Regions from separate parts of the Homo sapiens genome. Here all the other regions are linked to region 3. Evidence: promoter capture Hi-C in human tissues and cell types (Jung and others, 2019). All regions are on one chromosome and are shown on one strand. The core of a region is centred on a gene start or on the middle of the fragment in contact, and the rest is flanking DNA. Distances in the headings are between cores, read along the strand shown.

What was found. The method cuts DNA at HindIII sites, captures the fragments that hold promoters and counts their contacts. A contact is called where the count stands out against the background at its distance.
Region 1: a contact is called between the fragment with the promoter of PRSS57 here and the fragment with the promoter of MED16 in region 3, in 1 of the 25 tissues and cell types used here (dorsolateral prefrontal cortex).
Region 2: the fragment with the promoter of FSTL3 here is called in contact with the fragment with the promoter of MED16 in region 3 in 1 of the 25 tissues and cell types used here (dorsolateral prefrontal cortex).

What each region holds. Positions count from the first base shown.
Region 1 is chr19:693,583-696,706 of GRCh38, reverse strand. PRSS57 (serine protease 57) reads left to right here and starts at 1,255. Exons shown (of 5, transcript NM_001308209.2): 1 at 1,255-1,355; 2 at 1,740-1,893. The coding sequence starts at 1,277. The HindIII fragment of the contact is 19,970 bases long and covers 1-3,124 here.
Region 2 is chr19:674,879-678,133 of GRCh38, reverse strand. FSTL3 (follistatin like 3) reads right to left here and starts at 1,742. Exons shown (of 5, transcript NM_005860.3): 1 at 1,608-1,742; 2 at 157-342. The coding sequence starts at 1,710. The HindIII fragment of the contact is 14,894 bases long and covers 1-3,255 here.
Region 3 is chr19:891,450-894,717 of GRCh38, reverse strand. It overlaps MED16 (mediator complex subunit 16), which reads left to right and starts at 1,531. Exons shown (of 16, transcript NM_005481.3): 1 at 1,531-1,632. It overlaps RNU6-9 (RNA, U6 small nuclear 9), which reads right to left and starts at 1,234; the gene lies at 1,128-1,234. RefSeq lists an enhancer at 1,254-1,403 and silencers at 1,544-1,813, 1,864-1,913. The HindIII fragment of the contact is 37,799 bases long and covers 1-3,268 here.

The sequences.
Region 1 (3,124 bases), core at 6-2,505, 200 kb after region 3:
CACAAATTTAGCGGGGCGTGGTGGTGGGCACCTGTAATCCCAGTTACTCAGGAGGCTGAGGAAGGAGAATCCCTTGAACTCAGGAGACAGAGGTTGCGGTGAGCCAAGATCGCGCCACTGCACTCTAGCCTGGGCAACAAGAGCAAGATTCCTTCTCAAAAAAAAAAAAAAAAAAAAAAAGGCCGGGCACCGTGGCTCATGCCTGTAATCCCAGCACTTTGGGAGGCCGAGGCGGGCGGATCATGAGGTCAGGAGATCGAGACCATCCTGGCTAATATGGTGAAACCCCGTCTCTACTAAAAATACAGAAACAAAATTAGCCGGCTGTGGTGGCGGGCGCCTGTAGTTCCAGTTACTCGGGAGGCTGAGGAACGAGAATCACTCGAACCCGGGAGGTAGAGGTTGCGGTGAGCCGAGATGGTGCCATTCCACTCTAGCCTGGGCAACAAGAGCAAGACTCCATCTCAAAAAAAAAAAGAAAAGAAAAAAAAGGTGAAGACCCCCATGTACAGCCATGTCCCACTGGACTCCGGATCCCACAGAACGTCAGTGCTACAGGCTGGGGTGCGGTCACTGCCTCATCCTCACCTCCTAGCATGAGGTCTGGTATACACTAGGCACTCAATAACTGCTGAATAAAGGCAGAAATCTGCCAGGTGCAGTGGCTGTCTTCTGTGATCTCAGCACTTTGGAAGGCCGAGGAGGGAGGATCGCTGGAGCCCAGGAGTTCGAGACCAGCCTGGGCAACATAGCAAAACCCCACCTATAAAAATAAAATAAAATAAAGGCAGAAATCATCAGAGCTTCCCAGGAGACCGGCCTTCCTCGCTGTCCCCACAGCCCTGAGGTCGGCCCTGGGTTTGGAGATGGGAAGACTGGGGTTTGCGGGGTGGGGGCCGGAGGCGAGCTGCGGGTCTCGAGTGCCGCTGTGACCTCGGTTCCTCGGAAAGCTCCCCACACATGCTGGGCCACGTGGAGGCTGGGTAAACTGAGGCACAGAAGGGTCAATTGCCTTCCCGAGGTCACTTGCAGCCCCAGAGCTGTCTCCTCCTCTCCCTGTTTCCGGACTAGGGGACAATGATTATTATCAACATGATTATTACCAGCCACCACCTGAGACCATCGATTTCTCAGAAACGCCCGCCTGGGCTCCAGGCGTTGCTGGTGGGGCCTCCCGACCACAGGCCACAGCCAGGCTCCCCCTTTCCGGCCGTTGGCTGAGGGTGGGAGCCACGGCCCGAAGACCTCTGCGGGGAGACGCCAGCCTGCGTCTGCCATGGGGCTCGGGTTGAGGGGCTGGGGACGTCCTCTGCTGACTGTGGCCACCGCCCTGATGCTGCCCGTGAAGCCCCCCGGTGAGGAGCCCCCCGGGATCCCCACCCAGGCCCCCGCCAAGTCCCCGTACGGGGGCCACACCCGGGAACCCCCAGTCCCGGGAGAACCCTGGGGAGAGCTCCACCTGCTCCATCTGCCGAGCCCCCGTGGCTGCCTCTGCTGGAAATGGATGGAAATCCGGCCGGGGTCTCTGCCCAGCCCAGCCCTGGATCTCCCGGGCTCGGGAGCCCCTCCCAGCGCATCTGGGGGGCTTGTCTGGGCTCTGTCTCCAGCTCTCTGGGTCTCTCCGTCTCTAATCTCACCCCCTGTCTCTGTCTTGGCCGCTACTTCTCCCCCTGCCCTGACCCCAGCCCCGTCATCCGTTCCTCCCGCCTCGTCCCTGACTCAGGCCGTCCCTCCAGCAGGCTCCTGGGGGGCCCAGATCATCGGGGGCCACGAGGTGACCCCCCACTCCAGGCCCTACATGGCATCCGTGCGCTTCGGGGGCCAACATCACTGCGGAGGCTTCCTGCTGCGAGCCCGCTGGGTGGTCTCGGCCGCCCACTGCTTCAGCCACAGGTGAGCTCACCTGTCGGGCCCCTTCTTTCTGGACACCGTATCCCGACATGAGGGGGACTCCAGGCTGGTGGGGGAGCTGGGGGCGCCGTGGCTCCTGCAGGAGGGGGAGTCTCAGCAGGGGCTGGATTTAAAGGGCAACAAAGGGAAAACAGGAGGATAAGGCAGGGAGGCAAAAGAAGCACAGAAGAAGCAACAGGCGCAACAAGTACATATTCTGTTACTGTAACTGTCACTATGTTCTTTTTTTTTTTTGAGGCAGTCTCGGTTCCCCAGGCTGGAGTGCAACGGTGCAATCTCGGCTCACTGCAACCTCCACCTCCCGGGCTCAAGCGATTCTCCTGCCTCAGCTTCCCGAGTAGCTGGGATCACAGGCGCCCACCACCACACCTGGCTAATTTTTGCATTTTTAGTAGAGACTGGATTTCACCATGTTGGCCAGGCTGGTCTCGAACTCCTGACTTCAAATGATCCACCCGCCTCTGCCTCCCAAAGTGCTGGGATTGCAGGTGTGAGCCGCCATGCCCTGCCTCGTTTTAAACATATTGTTATAATAACTATTAAAATGTATATTGGGGCCAGGGTGGGTGGGTCCCCTCCTGCAGGAGCCCCCACCAGGCACGGGATAGGTTGGTCCTGGGCTGCAGTGTCCCCAGCTCCCCCGCCAGCCTGCAGTCCCCCTCACGTTGGGACACGGTGGATTGTTTGAGGTCAGGAGTATGAGACCAGCCTGGCCAACATGGTGAAACTCTGTCTCTACTAAAAATACGAAAATTAGGCTGGGTGCGGTGGCTCATGCCTGTAATCCCAGCACTTTGGGAGGCCGAGGCAGGAGGATCACGAGGTCAGGAGATCGAGACCATCCTGGCTAATACAGTGAAACCCCATCTCTACTAAAAATACAAAAAAATTAGCCGGATGTGGTGGCAGGCGCCTGTAGTCCCAGCTACCCAGGAGGCTGAGGCAGGAGAATGGCGTGAACCCGGGAGGCGGCGCTTTCAGTGAGCCGAGATCGCGCCACTGCACTCCAGCCTGGGGGACAGAGCGAGACTCTGTCTCAAAAAAAAAATACGAAAATTAGTTGGGCATGGTAGCAAGTGGCTGTACGTATCCCCAGCTACTCGGGAGGCTGAGGTAGGAGAATCACTTGAACCCAGGAGGTGGAGGTGGCAGTGAGCCGAGATGGCACCACTGCACTCCAGCCTAGGGGAAAGAGTGAGATTCTGTCGGAAAA
Region 2 (3,255 bases), core at 493-2,992, 220 kb after region 3:
CCCCCCAGTCCCTCTCTGAGGCTGGGATCCCCCTGCAGCCTCCTACATACCCCTGTGACGGGCTCAGTCCCTGGACGTTCGGCCCTCGACCACCATGACTGTTTGTGGCTGGTCCTGAGCTGAGACGTCTGCCCTGCTTCTGGCCTGAGGTCTCACCTTTGCAGGGAAGGCAGTGGACAAGGCCCAAGAAGCCGAGGAGGTTGATCTTGTTCCCCGGGTGGGTGAGGTTGGACCAGGCGGTGTCAATGTTGCCGGAGGCACAGCACTCGGCCCGGGTGACATCAGTCTGGAGCACCAGGCTGCAGGTGGCCTCCTGGCCCTGCTGGAGCCAGCAAACACCACCTGCGGGCCGGGGAACGGGGTGCTCTCCTGGGCCACTCCTGACACCCAGCTTCTGGCCCGCCCACAGATGCATGCAGGTGGTGCTGAGTAGTTACGCACGGAATGATCTACCCCCACCCAGGAAGAAGGGGCAGAAAACCACATGGGTGTCCCCACCCTGGCTCCAGAACCCTGGAAATGTCTCCTCCCCTCTGAGCTCCACGTGCCCCCCCCCACAGCCTCACCACCAACCCCCACCCACCCCAGGAGGTCCCTTCCCGTACCCTCCAAGCCCCCAGGCCAGGGGCTGGCACCCTGCCCAACCCCTCAAACACCACCAAACACCAGGCACTGGGCATGTCAGGGTCAGCAGGCCCTGGAGCCGCTTCTCCCGCCTCTGCCCTCTGTCTAGACAGCACCCGAGGGCGAGGGCACGCGGAGCCCCGCGCCTGGCAGCCCCCCCACCGCCTGGCCCGCCTCTTACTCACTCCAACTTGGGAACATTCCCCTTGCATGAGCTCACTGTCTCCCCAGGGACGTGGCCTTCGGGGAGGGGGCTCTGCTCTCCCTTTGGCGCAGGGCTGGGGTGGGGTGGGGCTGCAGGGATGGGGGGTGGGGAGCCAGAGAGCCCCCCATTTCTTCCCCCGTCCCTGGGGGCAGGAACGGCCACAGCCCCCATCCCAGAGCGCTTGCTGGTTCACAGACACTGCCAGGGACCAGCTTGTGGAACGCAGCACCTTGGCACCCATCATAGGAGGGGAAACTGAGGCCAGGAGTGGGGCCGTCTCCTGCCTGGCACCTCCCGGCAAGTCCCAGGTGTGAGACTCCATGCCCCGTCTACCCAGGACCCGGGAAAGCTCTCAGCCCCAGCTGGAGGGCCTGGCTCCCGACACCCAGCACTACCTCTCGGCACCAGGACCGACCCGGACGGTCGCGGCTAGAACCCTGGCTTTGCCTGCTACAGGCTGTGTGACCCTGAGCCTCAGTTTCCCCATCTGGAAGACGGAGATGAAGAGAGCTCCGGCACTATCGGGATGGCACAGGTTCAGGGAGGGGAGAGGTAGACACTAAGCGCTCAATAAATGTCAGCGGTCATTGTGATTAGAAACCTCTGCTCTGCTGACCTCTTGGTGACCCTCCTTCAGACCTTCCCGGCTCCAGCTTGCGCCGGACACCGCCCTCGCCCCCGCCGCCGCCGCCGCGCCCCCCGACGTCCCCCCGGCCGCATTCCGCGCAGCCCCACGTGGGTGGCCCGCCCCGCCCGCCCCTCTGGCCGCCCCACTCACCGGGCGCGGGGTTCCCCGAGCCCATGGAGCTCACGAAGCCCACGGCCCAAGCCAGGGCCCCCCAGGGCAGAGGCCAGAGTGGCCCTGGCGCCCCGGGACGCATGGCGAACGCAGAGACGGCAGCGGCACCGACTTCCCAGCGCGCGGCCGGCGCTCCCTATAAAGGTCCCGCGGGCCGCGGGCGGGGCGGGGCGCGGGGCGGGGCGCGGCGCGGGAGTGGCGGGGGCGAGGCCGTGTCCCGCGCGGGGTGGGCAGGCGCCGGGCCCGGCCGCTGCGGGGGGCAGTTGGGGGCGAGCGCCCGGGTCCCCTTCCGGAGCCAGAGAATGCATTTGGGGAGATGTGGCTGGACCCAGGGCGGAACCGGGACAGGGGTGTGGGTTCGAGGTGGTGGCAGCCTTTTGGGTGGATCGAGGGGCCGTCTCCAGGAATTAAAGTGGGTTTGGGGGTCTTCAGTTTCAGGGGTGGCGGTGAGGTAACGGGGACCCAAGAGGAGCACGTCTGTGGATCCCTGCATCCCGTTTCTGTGATTTGCATGTGGTCACTTTCATGGTCCAAGTGTGGTCTGAGCCCCCCAACCCGGCCTCCTTGTTCCCGACCCGCCCCACACACCCAAAACCTCAGCTGGATATGGTTCCCTGCTCACAGCGCGGGCCGCGCACCCGTCCACCTGGCCGCTGGAGCCGGCCTGTGGGTGGGGAGTGGTTGGGTGTGGGACAGAACGGGGTGCGGCCGGGACAGACCCAGAGACACAGCTCCTTCCAGCATCTCGGACAACAGCAGGCCTCGCCCAGCCACGGCCCCCAGGGAGGCCACTGCGTGTGTGTGTGTGTGTGTGTGTGTGTGTGCGCGCGCACGCCTGGCCTTTGTCCTGGGCCCCTGGGCAGCTCTGCCCCATCAGCCCTCCAAGCCTTTGCAGACATTCCCCCAGATCACCTCAACAAGAATGTTTACTAGGTTTTTTCCTCTCCCTCCAAGATTCAGCAAACACTGTTTCCAGCAGAGGCGTTTCCAACAATGTATGACAGCGACATCTGCGTGGGCCTGGAGGCGCTGCGCCCGAGGGGGCTTTCGTGCAGCCAGACACATTTCCTACTCTGGAGCTGATTCTGTCATGGGGGCCTCCAGATTTGTCAGGCGCCCTTGGCGAGCGCAGGGGAGCCCCTCTGTTCCTGCTTCTAGGGCATCAGTGAACATCTCTTTTGGCCAGAGGGACCCTGCGGGGTGCTGGGGTGCCACGGTGACCAAGGCAGACCCCATCACACCCTCACCGAGCTCCTGGTTTGGACAACAAAATGCAGAGACAAATTAATCTATAACTTCAAGGAGTGGTAAATGCTTTCAGGAAAATACAGAAGGTTGAGGTGGTGGAGAGCGGTTGGGTGTCTGCTGGGCATGCCTGTGTCTGGCCACTCGCTGTGCCGGCATTGCCCACCCCGCAGGTGGAAACGGACGTGTCCAGCAGCCCCACGGCACAGCCCCTTCTCTGGCCTGAGTGAGATCTGTGCCCACAGAAGACACACCTGTACCCTTTCCTCCACCTTAGCTGCCCAGCCTGTGTCCCCCAGCAGCCAGTGGCCAGGGGCCAAGTTCTGCCTTAGTGGCACTGAGGGGGGACACCCCGCCGTCTTGACCTGGCCTTGGCCTCTGG
Region 3 (3,268 bases), core at 282-2,781:
CAAGCTGTCCTCAGACCTTGGCCTCCCAAAGTACTGGGATTACAGGTGTGTGCCACCACACCCGGGCCGCTAAGAACGTTAAATCCCTACCTGCTGCCTGGGAATGGGGATTTTCTGTAAGGTCACTGCGTGGCCCTCTTGGAGAACTGAACCCTGATCCAGAAAAAACACTCTGATATTTGGGCCATTGTTAACCTGTAATTTTAGAACAGTTTTATATTTGCAGAATTCTTGCAAAAATCATGCAGTGAGGCCGCGGTGGCTCACGCCTATAATCCCAGCACTTTGGGAGGCCGGGGTGGAAGGAGGGCTTGAGGCCTGGAGTTTGAAATCAGCCTGGGCAACATAGTGAGACCCCATCGCTATTAAAATTTTGAAAAAACAGGCTGGGCGCGGTGGCTCACGCCTGTAATCCCAGCACTTTGGGAGGCTGAGGCAGGCAGATCACCAGGTCAAGAGACTGAGACCATCCTGGCCAACATGGTGAAACTCCGTCTCTACTAAAAATACAAGAATTTGTTGGGCATGGTGGTGCGCGCCTGTAGTCCCAGCTACTCGGGAGGCTGAGGCAGGAGAATCGCTTGAGCCTGGAAGGCGGAGGTTGCAGTGAGCTGAGATCGCGCTACTGCACTCCAGCCTGGGCCACAGAGCGAGACCCTGTCTCAAAAAAAATAAAAATAAAAATAGAAGAGCACCACATCCATTGCATTAAACTGGCTTTTGGAGGAGGAGGTGGGAATAGGGTTGGAAGTAGGAATACTCAACGGGGTCGGTGACTTCGCTTACAGTTTCCCCACTCTTGGACATTAGAAAATGGAAGAAAGGCCGGGCGCGGTGGCTCACACCTGTAATCCCAGTACTCTGGGAGGCCGAGGCGGGCGGATCAGGAGGTCAGTAGATAGAGACCACCCTGGCCAACATGGCGAAACCCCGTCTCTACCAAAATACAAAAATTAGCCGGGCGTGGTGGCGCATGTTTATAATCCCAGCTACTCGGGAGGCTGAGGCAGGAGAATCGCTTCAACCCGGGAGGCGGAGGTTGCAACAAGCTAAGATCGCGCCATTGCATTCCAGCCTGGGCAACAGAGCAAGATTCCGTTTCTGGGAGGGAAAATGGAAAAAAAAAAAAAAATATGGAACGCTTCACGAATTTGCGTGTCATCCTTGCGCAGGGGCCATGCTAATCTTCTCTGTATCGTTCCAATTTTAGTATATGTGCTGCCGAAGCGAGCACGAATATTGAGTTCCACCACCAGCTATTTAAAGCCCCTGGAACAAATGTCTGTACACATAGGCCGACTTCTCTTAAATGACCTAGAGATTTAACCTCTATTTATATTAGCCCAATGTGTAATGCAACTAACGTAGTTATTGACTGGAGTTGAGAAAGTGCTCGTTGTTCTACCAAATATAGCTACGGTGGCTGCTGGGAATTACTGGAAATGGTCGTATGCAAATAGCCCCGGAGGCGGGGCAGAGCCTGAGCCGCACCGCCCTCCCAGAAGTCTTTGGGAGGCGGCCCCACGCCTCAGGCGACTGGTTGTTACCGAGGAAGATGGCGGCGCCAGACCCGAGGCGCTAGGGAAGATCGCACCGCGGACGCCCGCTGAGCTTGGCGCACGGGCCGACCAGGTGAGTGCGGGGCTGCGGGGGCCCGGCGAGGGCGGACGGACCCCTGACCGTGTCCACGGACCCGAGGGAACGCGGCGCAGCCGTGGCGGGGCCTGCGGGGTCGGGGGCGTGGCCGGGAGCAAAGGCTGCTGGGTAGGCGGCCTGGGGCGCGGGGCGCGGGGCGCGGGGCGCGGGGCGCGGGGCGCGGGGCGCGGGGCGCGGGGCTCGGGGCTCAGGGTTTGCGGCGGAAACCTGGGGGAGGCCTGAGGCCCGCGGGGCTGGGTTCGGGGCGGGGCCTAAGGAGAGTTTGGGGCGAGGCTGAAGGCGCTTGGTGGGACTTCGGGGGCGGGGCCTGGAGTGGGTTTGGGGTCGCCGGGGTGGAGCCTGGGGACTGGGGGGCTGTAGAGGCAGGGCCTGGAGACTGCGGGGTTATCGGTGCGGGGCCTGGAGAGGGAATAGGGTCCCTAGGGTGGAGACTGGGGACTGCGGAGTTATAGGGGTCTGGAGAGGGTAGGGGGTCCCTGGGATGGACCCTGGAGATTGGGGGTTATAGGGGCGGGGCCTGAAGAGGCTATGGGGTCCCTGGGATGAAGCCTCGTATTTGGGGGCAATAGGGGAAGGGCCTGGAGAGTACGTGGGGTCCCCGGGGTGGAGTCTGGGGACTGGGGAGTTTTAGGGGTTGGGCCTGGAGAGCTAAGGGCGTTGGAGGCTGGACCTGGAGAGTACATGGGACCCCTACGGTGAAGCCTGAGAATTTAGGGTGAGGCCGTGGGCTCAAGGGGTGAAATGAAGTGTGGGAAGCAAAGGGGGTCAGGGGTGGGGCTGAAAGACTTTTAGAGGCTTGTGGCGGAGCCTTGGGGGTCTGGGGCAGGCCCTGAAGAAGTAGGGAGCCGGGGTTAGGGTTTGAGGAGAACCTGGTTGCGGGTGATTCCAGGCTCCCTGGGCTTTTGCCTTTGCGAAGCGAAACAGCCCGTCTGGATGCCAGGCGCTTAGAAAGCCTCGAGGAGGTGCCCCCTCTGTTCCCTGTGACACTCAGCCCCCGCCTCGGCCACAGGTGTTCCCCAACACACTCAGCCCCGCCTCGGCCACAGGTGTTCCCCGTCACACTCAGCCCCGCCTCGGCCACAGGTGTTCCCCGTCACACTCAGCCCCCGGCTCGGCCACAGGTGTTCCCCATCACACTCAGCCCCGCCTCGGCCACAGGTGTTCCCCGTCACACTCAGCCCCCGCCTCGGCCACAGGTGTTCCCCGTCACACTCAGCCCCGCCTCGGCCACAGGTGTTCCCCGTCACACTCAGCCCCGCCTCGGCCACAGGTGTTCCCCGTCACACTCAGCCCCCGCCTCGGCCACAGGTGTTCCCTGTCAGTCAGCCCCGCCTCGGCCACAGGTGTTCCCCGTCACACTCAGCCCCGCCTCGGCCACAGGTGTTCCCCGTCACACTCAGCCCCCGCCTCGGCCACAGGTGTTCCCTGTCACTCAGCCCCGCCTCGGCCACAGGTGTTCCCTGTCACTCAGCCCCGCCTCGGCTACAGGGAGCCGCCCCACCGCTTGCCTGTCTGCGGGCTCTTCCTTCGGGAGAGAGCTAGTGTCCACTTGCTGCCCCCATCATCACTCACCTGGGCCAGCGCAGACCCTCCGCTGCGTCTCCCGGCTGTG